Linked DNA regions of Homo sapiens: region 2 is linked to region 1. Evidence: promoter capture Hi-C in human tissues and cell types (Jung and others, 2019). All regions are on one chromosome and are shown on one strand. The core of a region is centred on a gene start or on the middle of the fragment in contact, and the rest is flanking DNA. Distances in the headings are between cores, read along the strand shown.

What was found. Contacts are between HindIII fragments. The study calls those that stand out against the background at their distance.
Region 2: the fragment with the promoter of CLIC6 here is called in contact with a fragment that was not itself captured in region 1 in 1 of the 25 tissues and cell types used here (dorsolateral prefrontal cortex).

What each region holds. Positions count from the first base shown.
Region 1 is chr21:33,954,329-33,960,019 of GRCh38, forward strand. All of the region lies in intron 2 of LINC00649 (long intergenic non-protein coding RNA 649), which reads left to right. Among named protein-coding and RNA genes, the nearest start is that of LINC00649, 26 kb to the left of the region's middle. The HindIII fragment of the contact is 4,732 bases long and covers 887-5,618 here.
Region 2 is chr21:34,665,379-34,671,069 of GRCh38, forward strand. It overlaps CLIC6 (chloride intracellular channel 6), which reads left to right and starts at 3,616. Exons shown (of 6, transcript NM_053277.3): 1 at 3,616-5,384. The coding sequence starts at 4,011. RefSeq lists silencers at 3,909-4,348, 5,249-5,328. The HindIII fragment of the contact is 4,429 bases long and covers 2,255-5,691 here.

The DNA of each region.
Region 1 (5,691 bases), core at 2,003-4,502:
TCCATTATGTTAATACCTAGGTTTGTGATTTTTTGGATGCTACTATTTATTAGTCTGTTCAGGCTGCCATAACAAAATAACATAGACTGGGTAGCTTAAAAAACAGAAATTGATTTCTCACAATTCTGGTGGTTGGGAAGTTCAAAATGAAGGTACCAGCCAATTTGGTTCCTAGTGAGCATTTTTCCTGGTGTAGGAGATGGTTATTCTTCTAGGTGGGCACCATCTTGCTATGTGTTCACATGATCTCTTCTTTGTGGGTGTGTCGCAAGAGATAGCAAGTGAGCAAGCTCCCTGGTGTCTCTTCTTATAAGGGCACTAATTCCATCATGAAAGGCCCACCTTCATGGCCTCATGTAACCTTAATTACTTCCCCAAAGCCCCATTTTCAAATACAATATATTGGGGGTTAGGGCTTCAACATGTGAATTTTGGAGGGACATAAACATTCAGTACGTAACATACTATAAATTCTTCATGTAGGTTCAAGGTTCAAATGTATATTACCCATTTGGTCTGGGAATTCTTAAGATAAAAGATTAATATAGAAGTGGTATCAAGCAGTGATGGTATCCCTGCAATGTCTGTCAGAAGCAATAAAAAATCTTCTCTGGAGGAACATTCCCTCAATTCAGGCAGTTGAAGATTGCTACAAACAGAGTCCTACTAAATATAAGTTCACAATCCAATTACAAAACATACGAGGAATCAATTTACCATGAGCAAGAGTCAGCCGACCAAGCAACTGATGGATTATGTTTCAAGAACTTAAGATAATAGAACTATCAAATATACTATAAAATAAATATATTTAAAATTATTAAAGACTTAAAAAGGAATTGAAAATTGATAAAGAGAATAAGACTATTAAAAGGAGGAGGCAGATTTGAAAAAGAATAATATTAATAAAAATGAAAAGTATATAGTCATTAAAATTAAAAACTCAATGGACAGATTAGAGACAGCTGAAGGGGAATTAGGGACTTGGAAGGTACAGGAAATTTCACAGAAAGCAGTTTAGAGAGATTAAGAGATGGAAAATATGAAAGAGAGATTAAGAGACAAGTAGGACAGAATGAGAAATTCTAATATACATGTAATGGGGTTTCCAGAAGGTAAGAAGATAGATAATGGGGTCGGGCATGGTGGCTCATGCCTGTAATCCCAGCACTTTGGGAGGCCAAGGTGGGTGGATCACTTGAGGTCAAGTGTTCAAGACCAGTGTGGGCAACATGGTGAAACCCCATCTCTACTTAAAAAATATACAAAATTAGCCAGTTGTGGTGGTGGGAGCCTATAATCCCAGCTACTCAGGAGGCTGAGGCAGGAGAATCACTTGAACCCAGGAGATGGAGGTTGCAGTGAGTTAAGATTGTGCCATTGCACTTCAGCCTGGGTGACAGACGAGATTCTGTCTCAAAAAAAAAAAAAAAAAAAAAGGTAATGGGGAAGAGGCAGCAGTCAAAGTGAAACTGGCTAAAAATTTTTTAGAATTGGTTTAAGACTTAAATCCTAAAAATCAATCAGTCTGATTACTCTTGAGCAGAATTAAAAAAATATATATGTATAGTTTAGAGGATAAAGGAGGAATCAGTAAAACTCAAACAATCCAAGAGACAGAGAAAAGAAACAAAGAAAAGACAGAGTAAGTAGGAAGTATAAAATAAAGCAATGGTAATAAAACTAAATATATGAGTAATCATAATGCATATAAATAGAATAAATTATTCAGTTAAAAGACAGAAGCTAGGTGTGGTGGCTCATGGCTTGAAGTCTCAGCTACTTGGGAGGATGGTGTGGGAGGACTGCTTGAGTCTAGGAGTTTGAGACCAGCCTGGGCACCACAGTTAGACCCTGTCTAAAAAAAAAAAAAAAGAGATTGTTAGAATAGGTTAAACACACACACACACACACACACACACACACACACACACACGCACATGCAGTCTAGTATTCTAGTATGCCTCTTGTTTAGAGAGTGACGCAGAAAGGTAGAAAATACACACCAGGGGAATACTAATCAAAAGAAAACTAGTTCGGCTATAGTAATAACAGACAAAATGGACTTTTTAATACATGTATAAAAACACTTTAAAGAGAAAAATAGTCACTACATATGATAAAAGGAACAGTTCATTAAGATACATTCACCTCCATTGACCTAGCAAGATCACCTTAAAACATATGTAGCAAAATTTTACAAAATTAGGAGGAAAAATAGACAAATCCATACTTGTAGTGAGAGATTTTAACATACCTCTCATAGTAATTGATAAACCAAGAAGACAGAGAATTAGTATGATTATGGAACATATAAACAATATAAGAAGCTTGAACAATAATTATATGTGTAATTTTACACTCAACAATCAGAGAATAGGCCGGGTGCAGTGGCTCATGCTTGTAATCCCAGCACTTTGGGAGGCTGAGGTGGGTGGATCATTTGAGGTCAGGAGTTCCAGACCAGCCTGGCCAACATGGCAAAACTCCGGGTCTACTAAAAATACAAAAATTAGCTGGGCATGGTGGCGGGCACCTGTAATCTCAGCTACTCAGGAGGCTGAGGCATGAGAATCGCTTGAACCCGGGAGGTGGAGGTTGTAGTGAGCCGAGATCATGTCACTGTACTCCAGCCTGGGCAACAGAGCGAGACTTCGTCTCAAACAACAACCACCCCGCCCCCCACTGAAAAAAGTTAGAGAATATACATTCTTTCTAAGCAGATACAGAAAATATACAGATTTTGACCATGTACTGGATATTTATATCATGAAGCTATTTATGTAAAGCTTAAAAACCCATAAAACTATACTATACCATATTCATGGATCTTCATAAAAAACATAAAATACATGGGGGCAATAGATCCTACATTCAGGCTGTAGGTTTTTCTGCAGTTGGAAGGAGGAAAAGGGGATGGGGGAGGGACATATTAGGGGCCTCAGCGGTATATGTAGTGCTTAAAACAACCTTAAATAAGAGATCAGCTTCCTGTCCTGATCCAGAAGGAGTCTAACCTCTAAGCCTCTCTCTCTCCCACTGATTATAACTAAAACTTTTAAAAGCAGAAAATACTTAAGACTTGGAAAAGTCATAGCATGCAGACTGAGGAAGGGAGTCAAAACTTGAAGAATGAATTGTTCAGAGCTGAATTTCTCATTTTCCCCCATTCTATTTCCCAACTTTGATCTGAGGGCAGCCTAGTTGTGGACCTAAAATCCTGAGAAAAACCCTGTATTTCTGGCCAGAGGACTGAGAAAATGGATCCCTGGGAACTAGATAATAGGGCAGCAGTCCCCAACCTTTTTGGCACTGGGGACCAGTTTCATGGAAGAAAATTTGTCCATGGACCTGGGTAGGGGGATGGTTTCAGGATGATTCAAGTGCGTTACATTTATTGTGCCCTTTTATTTCTATTGTTATTACATTGTAACATATAATGAAGTAATTATGCAACTCACCATAAGGTAGAATCAGTGGGAGTGCTGAGCTCGTTTTCCTGCAACTAGACGGTCCCATCTGGGGGTGATGGGAGACAGTGACAGATCATCAGGCATTTGATTATCATAAAGAGCATGCAACCTAGATCCCTTGCATGCACAGTTCACAACAGAGTTTGTGCTCCTATAAGAATCTGATGGCTCTGCTGATTTGACAGGGGATCAGGCAGTAATGGGAGAGATGGGGACTGGCTGTAAATACAGATAAAGCTTCACTCGCTTGCTTACAGCTCACCTTCTGTTGTGTAGACCTGTAATGGTCCATGGCCCAGGGACTGGGGGCTCCTGGAGTAGGGGAAATGCTGGAGAAGAGGGATTCCTTAGTTCTGTGTATGGACCAACACAAATCTTGAGCTCAGCCTCAAGTTGTATATACCCAGGACAGACCTAAAAGTACTACTGCAAAGATTTTCACAACTGACCTGACACTAGAACCCTGCAAACAGAAGGCAAGACAGAACCTGTGATCTGAACACAACAGGGTTAATGGCCTGCTAAACAAATCGAAACCAACATTCTCTAGAAGTTTTACAAGGAGAATCTAGAATTTCATGGAATAATATTAGAAATGTACAAGATACAATCCAAACTTACTTGACACATAAAGAACCAGGAAAATGTGATTATTTTTTAAAGGAAAAGGCAATCGATTATGTTAATCCTGAGATGGCCCAGATGCTGAAGTTATCAGACAAATACTTTACTTGTTATAACCAAGCCCATGAGGTAAAGGTAAACACCTTAAAATGGAAAGAAAAAAGTGTTTGGCAAAGAAATAGAAACTATTATAAAAGAATACAATACAACTTTTGAAAATGAAAATTGTAATATCTGAAAAACAAAACTCATTGAATGGGCTTAATAGCAGAATGGAGATGGCAGAGGAGTCAGTGAACTTGAAGATGTATCTATAAAAATTATCTGGTCTCAAGGACAGAGAGAAAAAATGATTGAAAAAAATTAATAGAATCTCAGTGGCCTGTGGTACAAGACCAAAAGGTCTGACATTCTTGTTCTTGTAGCACCAAAAGGAAAGAGAAAAGAGACTGGATTATGAAAAAAATATATATTTGAAGAATTAATAGCTGAAAATGTCTTACATTTCGGAAAAACATACATTTGTAGATTTAAGAAGCTCAGCAAGTCTCAAACAGAATAAACCAAAAGGAAATCATGTCCAGATGCATCACACACTGTTGAAAACCAGATATAATTGAAAAATCTTGAAAGCAGCCAGAAATAAGTAACACATTATATATAGGGGAACAAGGATTCATATGACTGAGTATTTCTCACCAGAAACCATGGAGGCTAGAAGACAGTAGAATAACATTTTTAAAGTGCTTAAAGAAAGGAGCTTTTAACCCAGAATTCTATATTCAGAAAAAATATCCTTCAGGAATGATGGTAAAATAAATACATTCTCAGATTAAGAAAAAGTGAGAGAATTCTTTGGTATTAAACCTGCTCTAAAATAAATGCTAAAGAGAGTCTTACAGGCTGAAGGTAAATGATACCAGAGGGAAACTTGAAACTTCAGGAATGAAGGAAGAGCAACAGAAATGGTAAATATTGAGCTAAATAAAATACCCTATTTTTATCCTTTTAAATTCTTTAAATATTTATGGCTGTTGAAGGCAAAAATCATAACATTGGTGAGGTTCTCAATGTATATAGATATAAACATATGACAGGTATAACATAAAGGGGGAGGGTAAAAGTATGTATATGTTTGTCAGGCTCCTACATTTTACTTTGAATTGGTAAAATAGTAACTTGAAGTAGACTGTAAAACACTAGGAATGCATATTGCAATATCTAGAACAGTCACTATACACACACACACACACACAAAGAGATATTGCCAAAAAAGGCAACAGATACATTAAAATGAAATACTAAAAACTTTAAGTAATTCAAAAGAAGGCAGGAACAATGGAACAGAACCAAAACACACAGAGGACAAACAGAAACCACATAATACAATAATAGACATAAATTCAACCATACCAATAATTACATTAAATGTAAATGAGCTAAACATACCACTAAAAAAACAGAGATTGTCAGATTGGATAAAAAAGAAGACTCAAATATAAGCTGTCTACAAAAAGCTAATTTAAATATGACATAGGTTAAAAAAGGAAACAATATAAAGCAAATATGATGAAATGATAGAACCAAGTGGTAG
Region 2 (5,691 bases), core at 2,366-4,865, 710 kb after region 1:
AAAAATTAGCTGGATGTGGTGCCATGCGCCTGTAGTCCCAGATACTCGGGAGGCTGAGGCAGGAGGATCACTTGAACCTGGGAGCTGGAGGCTTCAGTGAGCCGAGATCACACCACTGCACTCTAGCCATTTTATAAAAGTAAAATGGAGTGCTTGGGGAAAATAATTAATCAGAGACTGCAGCAAGGTAAGGGAGTAAGCCATGAGAATATAGGGGGCATCCCAGGCAGAGGCCCAGCAAGTTCTAGGGACGGCAAGCAGGCTGGTGTTTTAGGGGCTGCAGAAGTCTAGTAAGCCAGAAAGAGACTGGGATTGCCTGATTTTATAGGACCTTATACTTCATGCATAAAGACTTGACTTTTTCTTACTGTGAGACAGAAAACCTTTGAAAGATTTTGAGCATAAAAGTGGCATGGTCTGATTCATGATTTCCAAAGAGGATCAGCTGGCTGTGGAGTGGAGAGCAGACTGTCGAAGGCCAGGAACTAGTTAGGAGGTGGTGGCAATAATCTAGGTGACAGGAGGTGATGGTGACTTGGACTGGTACAGTGGTAATGGAGATAGAGAGAAGAGGTTGGATTTTACGTGTGTGAGTGTGTGTGTGTGTGTGTGTGTGTTTGTGTACTTTCTAGTGATGGCATCTCACTATGCTGCTTCCAAGCTGGTCTAGAACTCCTGGGCGCAAGTGATTCTCCTGCTTCAGCCTCCCGAGTAGCTGGGACTACAGGTGCACCACCATGCCTGGCTTTGGGTATATATTTTTAAAAAGTGAAGCCAGTTGGATTTACTGGCAGGTTGGATGTAGGGTTTGGAAGAAAAGAGCTAAGGTTTTCAGTTTGGGCATGTCTGTGCACACGTTGGCATATGTGTCTACATAAAGCTTAATGTTATCCAAAATTATCTCATTTCTTTTTTTACTTATTTTATTTTTATTTTTTTTTTGCTTTATACCATTTGAAGAGGGACCTTCCCAGTCTTGTTTATTGCTGTATATCCAGTGTCTGGAACAATCTGTCTCTTTCTCTTTCTCTCTTAAAAGAAAGTATTTAGCTATCGGTAATGTGGTTACAGAAAAATTGTAAGGAGCTGTTATTTTCTGTCTTCTGCATTTTCAGCATTGAGCCTGCATTTATTTAAAAACAAACTTTATTTAATTTCAGAAGATTGAACAAATTTGCAAAATTATATAATAGAAAATTTTAAAATGCTTATTATCATTAAGTGAAAAATTCTACATTCTGCAGACAGAATGTTATTTTGAGAGCCAATGTTAATGTGAGTAAATGACCCCAAACCCTATAAAAGAATAAATCCAAACCCTATAAGATCAAATAGCCTTGTGTGATCCACAGGATCAGTTTCCAGGACAGAATAGACTTTATTAGCATTGTTTTTCTGCAAGGACATTATTCAGGCCAGTTCTCAGCCACTCAGCCAACAGCTTTGTTTCCGACTGTGCCAAGTCTGCAAACAGTAGCTGATCATCTTTAGCTCAATTCAAAAGGAGGTTTTTCTAGATATTCCAACCACACCCCCCCCCAATAGCCAGCACATTTCTATCAAGTTTGATTGAGTTAGAGTTTATGAAATATTTCCTGAATGACTGAATACACACGTGCCTTCAAATACATATGCACCAACCTGAACTAGTTTTGGAAAATACTTTCCTCAGTTAGTTTTATACTTTGGGGGGTAAGCTAATGTCACAAGACACTCTATTGACAGAAATTCTTATCTACTGACTTTGCTAAAAGAATTTGCTAAATATTATTACTCGCATGAGTGTCTTTAATTTGGTTCTTTGTAAACATTGAGCATTGAAGACGGTTTGTTATTAAGGACAAAGTTATGTATCTAACTAATCTCACATTTTTCTAAGCAGCGCAAATAAACCCAGAGCCCTTCAATGGTTCACAGGTCCACAATCCTTTTATACACATTCTGAAATCCTAAAAGGCTCTGAATACTGAAAGCTGTTTTGGGAACTCATCTAGAATCAGAACCAGAAAGGCTTGAACTCAGCTGGAGGTGAACCTAAACTGGGGGTGGGGGGCCTGAAGCTTGTATGATTTTACCATATCTCACCAAATGTGATGCCTGTCTTACTGCAGAAATATTAATGTGTTTGATCACAAAGTGATGTTCTGTGTTATGTAATATACAGTAAAATCACTCAATCATCTTTCTAACAATTCTGTTTTCTGAAACACATCCGGGCTCATGGGATTTGCATAAAGCACTGTAAACCTGTACTGTGTTTGCTGTTCCGGGCTGAACGTGCTGGCTTCATCTTTCTTTACAAGATAAGGGTGATGGCTGCTACCTTGCCCCGGTGAATGCAGCAGGATTCCTTTTCTAGGTGCCTAGAGCTTTTACGGCTCACGTGCATCTCTGGCTCACCTGTGTGAGTGTCATGCTTTGACTAGATGCCACTTTGTGGTGATGAAGCTTCTGGCCTGTACCTACCCAGACAGAGCACAGCCTTGGAGAAAGGTAGCATGAAGCTGAGTGTCTCTGGGCTCCTGTCCTGTCATCCATCAGTGATGAGCAATGGGAAGTAGAAGGAGACACATTATGTTCATGGCCAAAGGTGTGACCCCAAGCCACATCAAAGGCACACCCAGCTCTTTCAACGAAAACAACCTTCTGTGGGCATGAGGGGCTCATGTATCTTAGGCCAATATCAAAGCCATATAAAGCCTGATGAATCAAGTCAGTCTTGAGCTGGGATCCCCGTTCCACCACATTTACATAGTGCCACCTTGGGTAACCCAGTTTCTTGGTAACCCACTAGAAGTAGCCTGGCTTATAATAAACTTACGACATACTTTTCACCATAATAACTTCCTTTTTAAAGTAGGTATTGGGTCTGTGATCCTGGGAGAACCCTAACCCAGGGAATTCCATAGCTCCCCTCTTTCACATCTTGGATTTTCTTTTCTCCACCTCCAGATTCCCAAGCTCTTAACTTGGAGGCAGAAGCACTGGTGGTGAGTTTAGAAATCTAGGAGAATCAGCAAGATACACAGACTCTTACAGTCTTAAGAGACCCGGGAGATGAAGGTGTAACCTTTTTCCAGCGCAGGGCTCCCACGATCCTCCAGACAGGCCCGGAGAAGCGGACCCTCATGGACAACAGCGCCCATCTCTGGTCAGAGAAACTCGACTGGCTCCTTGTGCGTCTATATGAGGGGCCTCTGGAACCTCTCCGGGGGCCCTGCAGACATGGGAAGGCGGCCAGCGTAGCCTCCCCAGCTTCTTCTCTCAGGGATTTACACCCTTGCTCTTGGACATCAGGCACAATGTGGACATCTTCAGTTGGGTACCGGGGGAGCTTGATGCTTCACTCCTGGGGTAAGGTGGGGATTAGGTGTTTGGGTGTCGGGGTGTGTGTTTGGAGGGGGTGATTTAAGTGACTCTGGAACTTGAAGCCATTCTAGAGAACAACACCCAAGCGGCCAGGAGAACCAGAATCTTTTCATCAACATCCACAAGGGTCACGAGAAAGGCTGTCATTGGCCAAGCTCCTAGGCTACCCAAACAAAGGAGGGAGGAGGGGAAGACAAACCCCGCCCAAGCCCCAGGGGATGGAGTTGGCACCAAGGACTTCTGGTCAACCCCAGGACAGCGGACAGCGGGCCGGGCACTTCCAAAGGCGCAGGAGCGAAGCAGCCCTCTCCAGCCGTGCACTGCACCTCCGCGGCCCGCGGGCGAGATTGGGGTCCCGGTGGGAAGCAGACGCGCAATCGGGGAGAAGCTCCAGCAGTGGAGGAAGAGTCCAGGGAGTTTCAGCTGGGCAGAAGGGGCGCAGAGGCTTGGGGCCAAGCGGAGTTTGCCCTGCGGGTCCTGCGCAAGGCCCCAGTGCCCCGGCTAAACCTTTGCCGCAGGATCCCGGAGCCGGCGTCCTTCAAGGAGCACAGAGGGCCCCGTAGCACGCCCCTTGCCCAGCGCCACCGACCCTTAAGCAGCGTCAAGGAAGGAGTCCCGATCAAGGACAGGGATCTGCGGCCATGGCCGAGGCCGCGGAGCCGGAGGGGGTTGCCCCGGGTCCCCAGGGGCCGCCGGAGGTCCCCGCGCCTCTGGCTGAGAGACCCGGAGAGCCAGGAGCCGCGGGCGGGGAGGCAGAAGGGCCGGAGGGGAGCGAGGGCGCAGAGGAGGCGCCGAGGGGCGCCGCCGCTGTGAAGGAGGCAGGAGGCGGCGGGCCAGACAGGGGCCCGGAGGCCGAGGCGCGGGGCACGAGGGGGGCGCACGGCGAGACTGAGGCCGAGGAGGGAGCCCCGGAGGGTGCCGAGGTGCCCCAAGGAGGGGAGGAGACAAGCGGCGCGCAGCAGGTGGAGGGGGCGAGCCCGGGACGCGGCGCGCAGGGCGAGCCCCGCGGGGAGGCTCAGAGGGAGCCCGAGGACTCTGCGGCCCCCGAGAGGCAGGAGGAGGCGGAGCAGAGGCCTGAGGTCCCGGAAGGTAGCGCGTCCGGGGAGGCGGGGGACAGCGTAGACGCGGAGGGCCCGCTGGGGGACAACATAGAAGCGGAGGGCCCGGCGGGCGACAGCGTAGAGGCGGAGGGCCGGGTGGGGGACAGCGTAGACGCGGAAGGTCCGGCGGGGGACAGCGTAGACGCGGAGGGCCCGCTGGGGGACAACATACAAGCCGAGGGCCCGGCGGGGGACAGCGTAGACGCGGAGGGCCGGGTGGGGGACAGCGTAGACGCGGAAGGTCCGGCGGGGGACAGCGTAGACGCGGAGGGCCGGGTGGGGGACAGCGTAGAGGCGGGGGACCCGGCGGGGGACGGCGTAGAAGCGGGGGTCCCGGCGGGGGACAGCGTAGAAGCCGAAGGCCCGGCGGGGGACAGCATGGACGCCGAGGGTCCGGCAGGAAGGGCGCGCCGGGTCTCGGGTGAGCCGCAGCAATCGGGGGACGGCAGCCTCTCGCCCCAGGCCGAGGCAATTGAGGTCGCAGCCGGGGAGAGTGCGGGGCGCAGCCCCGGTGAGCTCGCCTGGGACGCAGCGGAGGAGGCGGAGGTCCCGGGGGTAAAGGGGTCCGAAGAAGCGGCCCCCGGGGACGCAAGGGCAGACGCTGGCGAGGACAGGGTAGGGGATGGGCCACAGCAGGAGCCGGGGGAGGACGAAGAGAGACGAGAGCGGAGCCCGGAGGGGCCAAGGGAGGAGGAAGCAGCGGGGGGCGAAGAGGAATCCCCCGACAGCAGCCCACATGGGGAGGCCTCCAGGGGCGCCGCGGAGCCTGAGGCCCAGCTCAGCAACCACCTGGCCGAGGAGGGCCCCGCCGAGGGTAGCGGCGAGGCCGCGCGCGTGAACGGCCGCCGGGAGGACGGAGAGGCGTCCGAGCCCCGGGCCCTGGGGCAGGAGCACGACATCACCCTCTTCGTCAAGGTAAAGCTCGCTTCCCTCAATTCTTAGGACGACCCCCTTCCATTCGAGGTCTTGGTCATCTCAGATCCCAGAGGGACGCGCAGGGAGGAACCCTTGGTGGTATCCTGATTGTCATCAGGCGCTTCCATGCGCGGGCGGTAGGCGGGACAGCCGGGATTTCCCGGAGAAGAGTTTCCAGGGCATTTGCGGGAGGACTCAATGGTTTGGAAGCAAAGACTTTGGGGGTGGGGGCGACGGGGAGTGCGATGGGGGCCAATGAGGATGTGGGGTTGTGGGTTCAGCATCCCACTGTCCTTTGACCTGAACA